Regions from separate parts of the Homo sapiens genome. Here regions 1 and 3 are each linked to region 2. The links are contacts of gene promoters, found by promoter capture Hi-C in blood cells and fetal thymus (Javierre and others, 2016). All regions are on one chromosome and are shown on one strand. The core of a region is centred on a gene start or on the middle of the fragment in contact, and the rest is flanking DNA. Distances in the headings are between cores, read along the strand shown.

Region 1 (3,143 bases), core at 74-2,573, 2.1 Mb before region 2:
AGGAAAACAGAAATCACATTAGTTATTGAGAAATATTTTAATATGGGAAATTGGTCAAAAGGAATTATAAAAGGTAACAGGTAATCACTGCAGGTAGCAGCTACCATTCCTAGAGCTAGGAAAGGATGGAACAAAAGAAGTGGTTGGAGTCATCAGAACCTAAAAGCTTGAAGGAGGGCCCTGAACACCTTAGTTCAGGCCTATGAAGAATGAAGAGAGGGTGATGGCTGGCTGTTACTGGATCTCTGGAGCACAAAGAAGGGATCCCACGGTGTTGAGGCTCAAACTTCTGAGGAGGTGGCTCAAACATTGGCTATCTCAGGAGCTCAGGGGAGGGGCCGCATGAAAGTAGAATTCAGATCTCTGAGGAGAGCACTGACTGCTGCTGTGATCTCTGAGGGGTGCAATAAGGCTGATTCTGTGATTGTTGGAAAAAGGATAGAGATTAAAACCACCTTTTGGCTAAAGCAATTGCTCCTGCCACGGTAAAATGCAGCTGCTGCTGGCATGATGCTTACAGAATGGAGCAAGTCCCTTCTTCCTCTTGCCTTTGTTTCCCTCTTGTTCGTCCTGTTGGTGGAATCTAGCAGAAGCCCCCCCAGTAACATGGAGTTGAGTATAAAAGGGTGACTGCGTGGACAAGAAACAATAACCAGCACACATTTACTTGTTTCTCTGGTGTGATTCTGAGTCGCACAATCAATGGGTTACAGGATTTGTACATTTCAAATTTTAATAGGGACTCCCACATTATCCTCTTTCCTAAACTGCACGTTAACAGTTTCAATATGAATAAAAGGGGACGGGGAGGGGAGATTTAGAGAGAATAGTGCCTACAGCAGTAATCAAATTTTAACAAGACTTGGGAATACTGTCAAAATGCAGGATCTGATTCAGGAGTTCTGAGGGGCCCGAGTTGGCCTTTTCTAAAAAACGCCCAGGTGATACTGATGATTGCATCATGTTGGAAGTCTAAAACACTCCCATCTTCCCACAGCCTCTACCATAACATTCTAATGCTACCCTTATGTGAAACTGCCCCTCTGATGATTCACGCCAGTTTCCTACCCTCTAAGCAAGGAACAAACCTAGCTTCTGAAAGCGGGGAGGACAGGATTTGGCGCCACGGGTCCAATGCTTGGCTTCCTATTGGCCAGGAATGACATCACTCAGACAGGCGTGGCTTTAGCTGTGACGTCTCCGGTGGCGGATGGTCAGGGACACAGCGGGAGGCGGGAGCGGAAGTGGGGCAGCAAATGGACAGGGTGGGTGGCGGAAAAGGGCCCGGGGGAAGTTATTACAGGGTGTCCTCTTCCGCCGCCAGAAGCCGGAAGTTGTGTCCCGGACGTGTCAACCGGGGTCTGAGTGCTCAGAGTACAGCTGCAACCGCGACCATGGGCGGGAAGAACAAGCAGCGAACTAAAGGGAACCTGAGGGTGAGCGGGGGCTGGCTCGGCCGACCCGGGAGCCTCGCTTCGAGGCGGCTGGCTCCGCCCAGCGCGTTGCTGGAGGGTGTGTGGAGCGCGGCTGTAGGGAGGCGTGTGTTTCCCTGTCGAGTGTGACCTCTCTGTTGTGTGTGCGTCCCTGAGAGCGGTTTGTGTTATCTCTGAGCAGATTGGGGAATCGTGAGAGAAAAGATGTACCATGCCAGAGCTGTCCTCATCCGAGCACACACCCATAATATTCATGAAGAAATGATAATGTGTCAGGTTCACTGGAAGGTGATCTGGCCGAGGTAGCGGGTTGGTTGGGGGAGGGCGGCGCTGGGAAGAAGGAGAGTTGGGAGAATGTTAAAGTGAATCCACTGTGGAGGTTACCGCAGATTGTGCCTCTCCTTTGCTACCTACAGTGGCTTCTCCTAAGCTAAAGCTCTTAGGATGGTATATTTGGTTTCTGGACTGCCTGTTACCCCTTTCCATCTGCAGTCCCATCTTCAGCTCCCTCCTCTTGGCTTACTTCATCCAGCCACACTGATCTCTTCACTGTGCCTTGACTACCTGGCCGGCTCCCAACGCTCTTCAGTTAGGTGGCTCCAAACTTTGCTCTCGACACCTCAGTGAGGTCTCCCATGATCACCCTCTTGGTAGCCCTTCCCCACTCCCATGTTCTTCCTACTTTATTTTACTCCATTGTATTTATGACATTTATTGTCTTGGTTCACTAGGACGTAAGTATTTTGAAAGCAAATGTTTTTATCCTCGGAACCTAGAACAGACTGGCACCTAATAGACGCTCACTAAGTACTTGCTTAAGGACGACCTTAAAGTGGATTCGTGTAAAACTACACGATGAGGGGTTTTGTAATGGTATTTTTTTATGGTGTTAGATTTATTATAGCACAGTCCAATTTTATGAGAATGCTTTTTTTTCCTGTTTCTGATGTAGTTAATTCTAGTGATTTCAATGTCACATTTTCTTAGATCTGTCACTTAATCTGTTTTGGAAGATAATAACAGTATTAACAATTATAGCAACCTGTTGTGTTACTGTGCTAAGCACTTTACTTGCATCTTTTAATGTTTTTTATTTAACAGATTTTCTCAAATGTTTTATATTTGAAAAGTTCTTATGAGGAAAAGTTGCAAGAATATTAGAACGACATCCCATATACTCTTTACCTACATTTACCAATTGCTAATACTTGGTTGCATTTGCTTTCTCTCTCTTAATTTATGTATTTTTCTGAACTTATAAGAGTTAGTTGCAGAAGTCGGGACTCTTAACTCCTAAATACATCAGCATGTATCTTCTAAAAACAATGCCATTTTCTAGCCTGCAGCAATTATAATAATGGTTATAGTATGCAGAAACTTTGACTTTTGTATAATACTGTAATCCAGGATACAGCCTTGTATTTAGACTTCTGTAGTTATCCCAATAATGTTCTCTTTTTTCTTTTTTTTTTTTTTGTAAGACAGGGTCGCTCTGTCTCCAAACCTGGAGTGTGGTGGTATGATCATGGCCCACTGCAGTGTCAACCTCTTGGGCTCAAGCGGTCAGTCCTCCCACCTCAGCCTCCTTAGTAGCTAGGACTCCTGGCTAATCTTTTTTTTTTTTTTTTCGGGGACAGAGTCTGGCTCTGTTACCCAGGCTGGAGTGCAGAGGCGTGAACTTGGCTCACTGCAATCTCCGCCTCTCGGGTT
Region 2 (2,969 bases), core at 213-2,712:
GAAAAAAGAAGTTGGAAAGCATCCGGAAAAGAAAGCTTGTAAGAGGGACGTGTGGGAGAACTAGAAGGGACGCTTCTGGCTGGGGCCAACTGAAGTGGGGAAGATCTGGGGAGGAGCGAGGAAAGGACCCAGATCTACTTGGAGCCAACCAAGAGACCGGACGGGAGTGGGGCGGAAAGGCGGAGACCAGTTCGAGCACTAACGCGGGGGCGCGCGAGTGTGAGGGTTGCGGGTCCGCCCGGGGCTAGGGCGGTCGCTCTCGCCATTGTCCCCGCGGCTTTCCGCCTGTGAAACACGTCCTTCCTCTGGGTCCTTGAGCCCCTCCCACTTTTTGGAGAGAAGAGCCACTCAGTTTTTTTTCCTAAGGACCTGTTGGTGGACCTCTCCTCGCTTTCGTAACGCGGATATAGCCTTTTCCCTTCCTGGTAGGAAGAGGAAGGAGGGGTCCGGGAAGGAAGCCGATTTCCTTCTTTCCCCCTCTGCACGCTTGCTAGCCCCAGCGATCGCTGCTGGCCCCCGGGTAGGAAAGTGGGGTTCCTGGCCGTTTCTGCGACGCTGGCCTAGGGCTTGCAGCTGCTGTTGAGTGAAAGCACGCAGACTGGCGGGAGCCGATCATTTCTCGAATGAAGAAGAAAAAGCGCAATTCCCTCCTTATGCTCTAGGGAATTGAGCCGCGTCCCAGATCACCCATTCCAGAAATGTGAAACCGGGCCCTCACAAAGTCGTCTCTGGTGAAGAGGTGGCGTGCGGGGTGGGGGTTGGTGGAGGGTGAAGGCATAAGCAAACATATTTTAAAATCCAGATCGTAGGAAGTGTCACCTGGCCCCTCACCCAGGCATGCTTTCTGGGGGAAGCGCAGGGCCAAGCTTTCCCTAGAAAAGCTGGGGCGAAGAGAGAGCAGGCGGCGGCTAAGGAGCTCCTGGCAGGCTGGGAAGGTGGAGAAGTGGGGTGAGGTATTTTTCTAGAAAGTGTAGCCCTAGCTCATCTCCTAGATTGGGGAAGAGGGAACTGAGGGAGGAGGGAAGGAGACCCAGGGCAGCTCCAGGATAGGGAAATGTTGAAGAAGGGACTGCGTTCTCCAACCGAACCCTCCCTCCTGGGAACCGCAGCCCAGCGCGGTAACTGAGTTACCGCAACCGGGCGGTGGGGAGGAAGGGTGGTCCAGGAAACCGGCGAGGGAGAAAAGCGGTGGAAGGGAGAGTCTTCTCCCTGGAGCGGCCCCAGCAGTACAAAGTGCTGGTCACAGCGCCCCTTCCGCCCCTAGATTGACGAGCAGTGGCGTGGAGCCAGCGCGGAGGCTGCCCCCTCCCCCTCCCGAGCCCGCAGCGCGGAGCGCGGTTTAGCACCAACGGAGCCGGGGGCGGCGTCTTTGGGATGGAAAAGGGCCAAAGGGGAGGAGTGGGGTGGGGGTGGGGGTTTCACTGGTCCACTATAAAAGGACCGCTCGGCTGCCCGGTTCTTGCACTCGCTGGAAAGCGGCTCCGAGCCAGGGGCTATTGCAAAGCCAGGGTGCGCTACCGGACGGAGAGGGGAGAGCCCTGAGCAGAGTGAGCAACATCGCAGCCAAGGCGGAGGCCGAAGAGGGGCGCCAGGCACCAATCTCCGCGTTGCCTCAGCCCCGGAGGCGCCCCAGAGCGCTTCTTGTCCCAGCAGAGCCACTCTGCCTGCGCCTGCCTCTCAGTGTCTCCAACTTTGCGCTGGAAGAAAAACTTCCCGCGCGCCGGCAGAACTGCAGCGCCTCCTTTTAGTGACTCCGGGAGCTTCGGCTGTAGCCGGCTCTGCGCGCCCTTCCAACGAATAATAGAAATTGTTAATTTTAACAATCCAGAGCAGGCCAACGAGGCTTTGCTCTCCCGACCCGAACTAAAGGTCCCTCGCTCCGTGCGCTGCTACGAGCGGTGTCTCCTGGGGCTCCAATGCAGCGAGCTGTGCCCGAGGGGTTCGGAAGGCGCAAGCTGGGCAGCGACATGGGGAACGCGGAGCGGGCTCCGGGGTCTCGGAGCTTTGGGCCAGTACCCACGCTGCTGCTGCTCGCCGCGGCGCTACTGGCCGTGTCGGACGCACTCGGGCGCCCCTCCGAGGAGGACGAGGAGCTAGTGGTGCCGGAGCTGGAGCGCGCCCCGGGACACGGGACCACGCGCCTCCGCCTGCACGCCTTTGACCAGCAGCTGGATCTGGAGCTGCGGCCCGACAGCAGCTTTTTGGCGCCCGGCTTCACGCTCCAGAACGTGGGGCGCAAATCCGGGTCCGAGACGCCGCTTCCGGAAACCGACCTGGCGCACTGCTTCTACTCCGGCACCGTGAATGGCGATCCCAGCTCGGCTGCCGCCCTCAGCCTCTGCGAGGGCGTGCGCGGCGCCTTCTACCTGCTGGGGGAGGCGTATTTCATCCAGCCGCTGCCCGCCGCCAGCGAGCGCCTCGCCACCGCCGCCCCAGGGGAGAAGCCGCCGGCACCACTACAGTTCCACCTCCTGCGGCGGAATCGGCAGGGCGACGTCGGCGGCACGTGCGGGGTCGTGGACGACGAGCCCCGGCCGACTGGGAAAGCGGAGACCGAAGACGAGGACGAAGGGACTGAGGGCGAGGACGAAGGGGCTCAGTGGTCGCCGCAGGACCCGGCACTGCAAGGCGTAGGACAGCCCACAGGTAGAAGAATTGCTCTCGTTTGTCTGTCCATTCATCCTCCTCTCCTCACTTTATCTATCCCACGCGACTTCAGGGTAGACTCCTGCTGGCAGGCAGGATCATAAGTCCGCGGACAGAACGGAGGCCTGGAGTGGAGGAATGTGGTTTGAGGTTTGGATTGGTGAACTCAGCTAGAAAACATACTTGCATTTGCCCGAATAATGAATAACCAAGAAAAAAACTGACAAACGATTTTCTGCAAACTAAAGCAAAGCATTTAGGCCGGGGAGGGAGAGTTTGTAACCTGACTCCTTCCACCTTTAGCGAGTTGGAGCTTGTGCGAG
Region 3 (3,300 bases), core at 250-2,749, 2.1 Mb before region 2:
TCACACCACTGCACTACAGCCTGGGCAACCATGTGAGACTCCATCTCAAAAATAAATAAGCCCAGAGAAAAAATTTCAAACTATTCAACTAAAAGTGGGAAATTGAAATTATAGTCAAAAACTTCCCCTCTCAAAAAAAGCCCACCCAGATGGTTTCATTGGTGAGTTCTATTAAACTTTTAAAAAACAATGAATTTTCTGGCTCTACCACTTGGACTGTATAAGGTTATTTCACCTCTCTGAGCCTTGGTTTCTTCTTCTGTAAAATGAAATCGTAACTGAAAATAAAGTGCTTAGCACAGTGCCTGGGTAGAAAGCATCCAGTAAATAATATAATTTCTGCTATTTTTACTACTTTTACTATTACGATTGCTACTTCTACTACTATTATTCATGAATCTTTAGAGTCTCCTGAGTCCCTGACAGCTACTGACATTGGGGCAAAGATAAGTCTATGAATATTTTTAAATTTGACTTACGGAAATAGATACTAGGTGTTGCAGGCATGAGAAGTGTTTCTTAGCATGATGAAATCTGGAGAAAAAAGTTTGAATTAATTCCAAAGTAAATCAGAAGTAATAGTTGGTGGCACTGGTAATGGAGCTGAATGCATTAGAAAATGTCAGTTATAAAAATTGACTGATCTGGGTGTGAGATCAGTCCAGTTACAGTACTGCCCAGTTACAGTAAGTTAGAAAGAGGAAACGGATGGGAAGAGTTTATTCTTGTCAGTGATTTACTGGCGGGAATAAGGAATGATATCGCTAACTAGGTGCCTACTCCAAGCCCCTACATCTTTGCTTCTGTTTAGTAGAGAGCAAATTTCAAATGGAAGTTTGGCTTTGCATATATATAGTCACTGCTCAAAAATATGTTTATCAATTTATCAATTTTGGTCTATCTGTCAATTTTGGTCTGTCAGTTTAACAATTTCAATAGCTTTGTCAATATCAATTAGGTCATTCATGATTTGTCACTCTTCTTCAGATAGCCAACATTTTCAAAATTGACTTCTTTACTAATATCAGATCCTCAGACTGTAAAGACTCTACTAATAAAGTGAAATTCACACCAGGGGTTTGTGTTCATTATTATGAACAAATGAAAGAAAATGTGCATTATAATCACTCTCTACAAAAACATGGTGACCAAACTACCTTTCCAGAAGCTTGACTTGAAAATTTAGTATTTACTGAGAACAAGAGAGATGAACACCTGAACAGGCTGGAAAACATATGGGGATAAATGCCTGAGTTCACAGCAAAATGTCTGGCAAGAGAAAGAATGTTAGTGTGAAATATACAGAAATTTTGGTTATAAATTTTCCCACCAAAGTTTCACTTCAAAAAACAAACAGTGCAGACTAGTTGTTGTGTCAGAATGGAAAAAGAGTGTACCTTAGGAACTAGTTCAGGAGGATATTTTAGTTCTCTTGCTTTGTTTTTTTCAATCAATCATGTGACTAGTTTGTGTATTTCCTTTCCTTGGGGAAATATGCTAACTCCGATCCAATGTTTTTTAAAAGCTCTTTCATCGTGTGCAAAATATCTTTGGTTAGTGAATTTACAAAATGTTCTTAACCTCAGAGAAAATAAATAAGTTAGAGAAAATTAAAATAAGTCCAAATCATTAAGTACATTTTTTCAAATCCCTCAAGTGTAGGAAGAATGTAGGTGGAACAGAACAACAGTCAGGCTTGGGCCAGAACCTAGAGAAATCTCCAAAGACGTCAAAAATGATTTCACATGAAGAGTTGTGTTCTTTTTTTCTTTAGGACTTCTTCAAAAGCAGAGGAAGGGCTGGAGAAAAACATGAAAAAGAAAAGCTTATCGGAATTCAAGGTTTGGCAAGAATACTTTCCCAAGCCCATCCAGCTTACCATCAATGATAATTCAATTTCAATCAAATCAAAGAGAAGGTGCCATGCTATGTGCTGAGCTTGTGTAGAAATATGAACAAGTCTGTATGCTCACCCTCACAAGCTGTTTAAGATGATGAAGCTGGGTTAAAGATGAACGACAATAACTATAATATTTTATGAGATTATAATATAACAATATTATGGAGAGGATTTTCAAGCCATCTTCTCCCAGAAGTCTAAGTGAGAGGAGCTCTACCTCTCACCTGTTCAAATCCTTCCTATCCCTCAAGGGCAGCGTTAGTCCCACATCTGGTTCAGACTCTCCAAAACTTTCCAGCCCGTTGTTGTTTATATCACAGATGTGAGGCCATTATAAGCACCTCTTGATTTGGGTTATAAAAACAGGAAAAGAGTGTATTTTACTCTGAGGGAGAAGACAGCTTAGTATGCAGAGGCAACAGAACAAAGTGGTCAAGAGAACAGATTTCAGGGCCAGCTGACTTTGCTACAAATCCCAGGATCACCACTGGGGAACACTGGAAAAGTTACTTAAATCTTTCTAAGCCTCAGTTTCCCCATCTTCAAAATGGAAATATTAATAGTTCCTACCTCATGGAATTGTGAGAATCAAATGAGGCAGCAACTGTACTTAAAATACTAGGGGGCAGGTTGGGCGTGGTGGCTCACACCTGTAATCTCAGCACTATGGGAGGCTGAGGTGAGCAGATCACTTGAGGTCAGGAGTTCAAGACCAGCCTGGCCAATATGGTGAAACCCCATCTCTACTAAAAATACAAAAATTATCTGGGTGTGGTGGTGCACACTTGTAATCCCAGTTACTCAGGTGGCTGAGGCAGGAGAATCACTTGAACCTGGGAGGCGGAGGTTGCAGTGAGCTGTGGTCGCACCACTGCACTCCAGCCTGGGCAACAGAGCGAGGCTCTGTCTAAAAAAATAAAAAATAAAAAACACTAGGGGGCACAGTCAACCACTGTGGCACAAGCCTGTAATCCCACTTACTTGGAAGGCCAAGGCGGGAAGATCAGCTTAGCCCAGGAGTTCGAGTCCAACCTGAGCAACACAGCAAGACCCCATCTCTAAAGAAAAAATGAGGTGGGGGGAATAAATATTAGACATATAAATGTTTGTTGGTTATGACTAATGTTCATCTATGCATTCCACAAATGTTCCTTGGGTGCCTTTTCTCTGCAAGATGCTGTTCTAGGCACTAGATCCTAACAGTGGGTAAAACAGACAAAGTTCCAGACCTCATGGAGTCTCCATTCATATGTCAACCAGAAAACAAGCTCTATGGGGAAAGACAGCATATAAAATATCATTTTGTATTTCCTATGGTGCTTTACACAAAATAGACAACAAGAGTCTGTGAAGGAATTCTAAGTGGAAGAAGGAAGACGTGCTTGGAAAATCTTGCACTC

What was found. The method cuts DNA at HindIII sites, captures the fragments that hold promoters and counts their contacts. A CHiCAGO score of 5 or more calls a contact.
Region 1: the fragment with the promoter of LTN1 here is called in contact with the fragment with the promoter of ADAMTS1 in region 2 in 4 of 17 cell types (fetal thymus, megakaryocytes, erythroblasts and 1 more); the score reaches 13.3 in fetal thymus.
Region 3: a fragment that was not itself captured here is called in contact with the fragment with the promoter of ADAMTS1 in region 2 in 1 of 17 cell types (megakaryocytes); the score reaches 5.6 in megakaryocytes.

The regions. Positions count from the first base shown.
Region 1 is chr21:28,991,057-28,994,199 of GRCh38, reverse strand. LTN1 (listerin E3 ubiquitin protein ligase 1) reads left to right here and starts at 1,323. Exons shown (of 30, transcript NM_015565.3): 1 at 1,323-1,436. The coding sequence starts at 1,395. It overlaps LOC105372766 (a long non-coding RNA gene), which reads right to left and starts at 1,097. Exons shown (of 3, transcript XR_007067835.1): 1 at 1,069-1,097; 2 at 519-630; 3 at 19-418. RefSeq lists enhancers at 1,039-1,098, 1,409-1,518. The HindIII fragment of the contact is 7,723 bases long and covers 169-3,143 here.
Region 2 is chr21:26,843,902-26,846,870 of GRCh38, reverse strand. ADAMTS1 (ADAM metallopeptidase with thrombospondin type 1 motif 1) reads left to right here and starts at 1,462. Exons shown (of 9, transcript NM_006988.5): 1 at 1,462-2,646. The coding sequence starts at 1,917. RefSeq lists enhancers at 78-677, 678-1,278. The HindIII fragment of the contact is 3,865 bases long and covers 869-2,969 here.
Region 3 is chr21:28,908,868-28,912,167 of GRCh38, reverse strand. No RefSeq gene overlaps it. Among named protein-coding and RNA genes, the nearest start is that of HEMK2, 25 kb to the right of the region's middle. The HindIII fragment of the contact is 657 bases long and covers 1,171-1,827 here.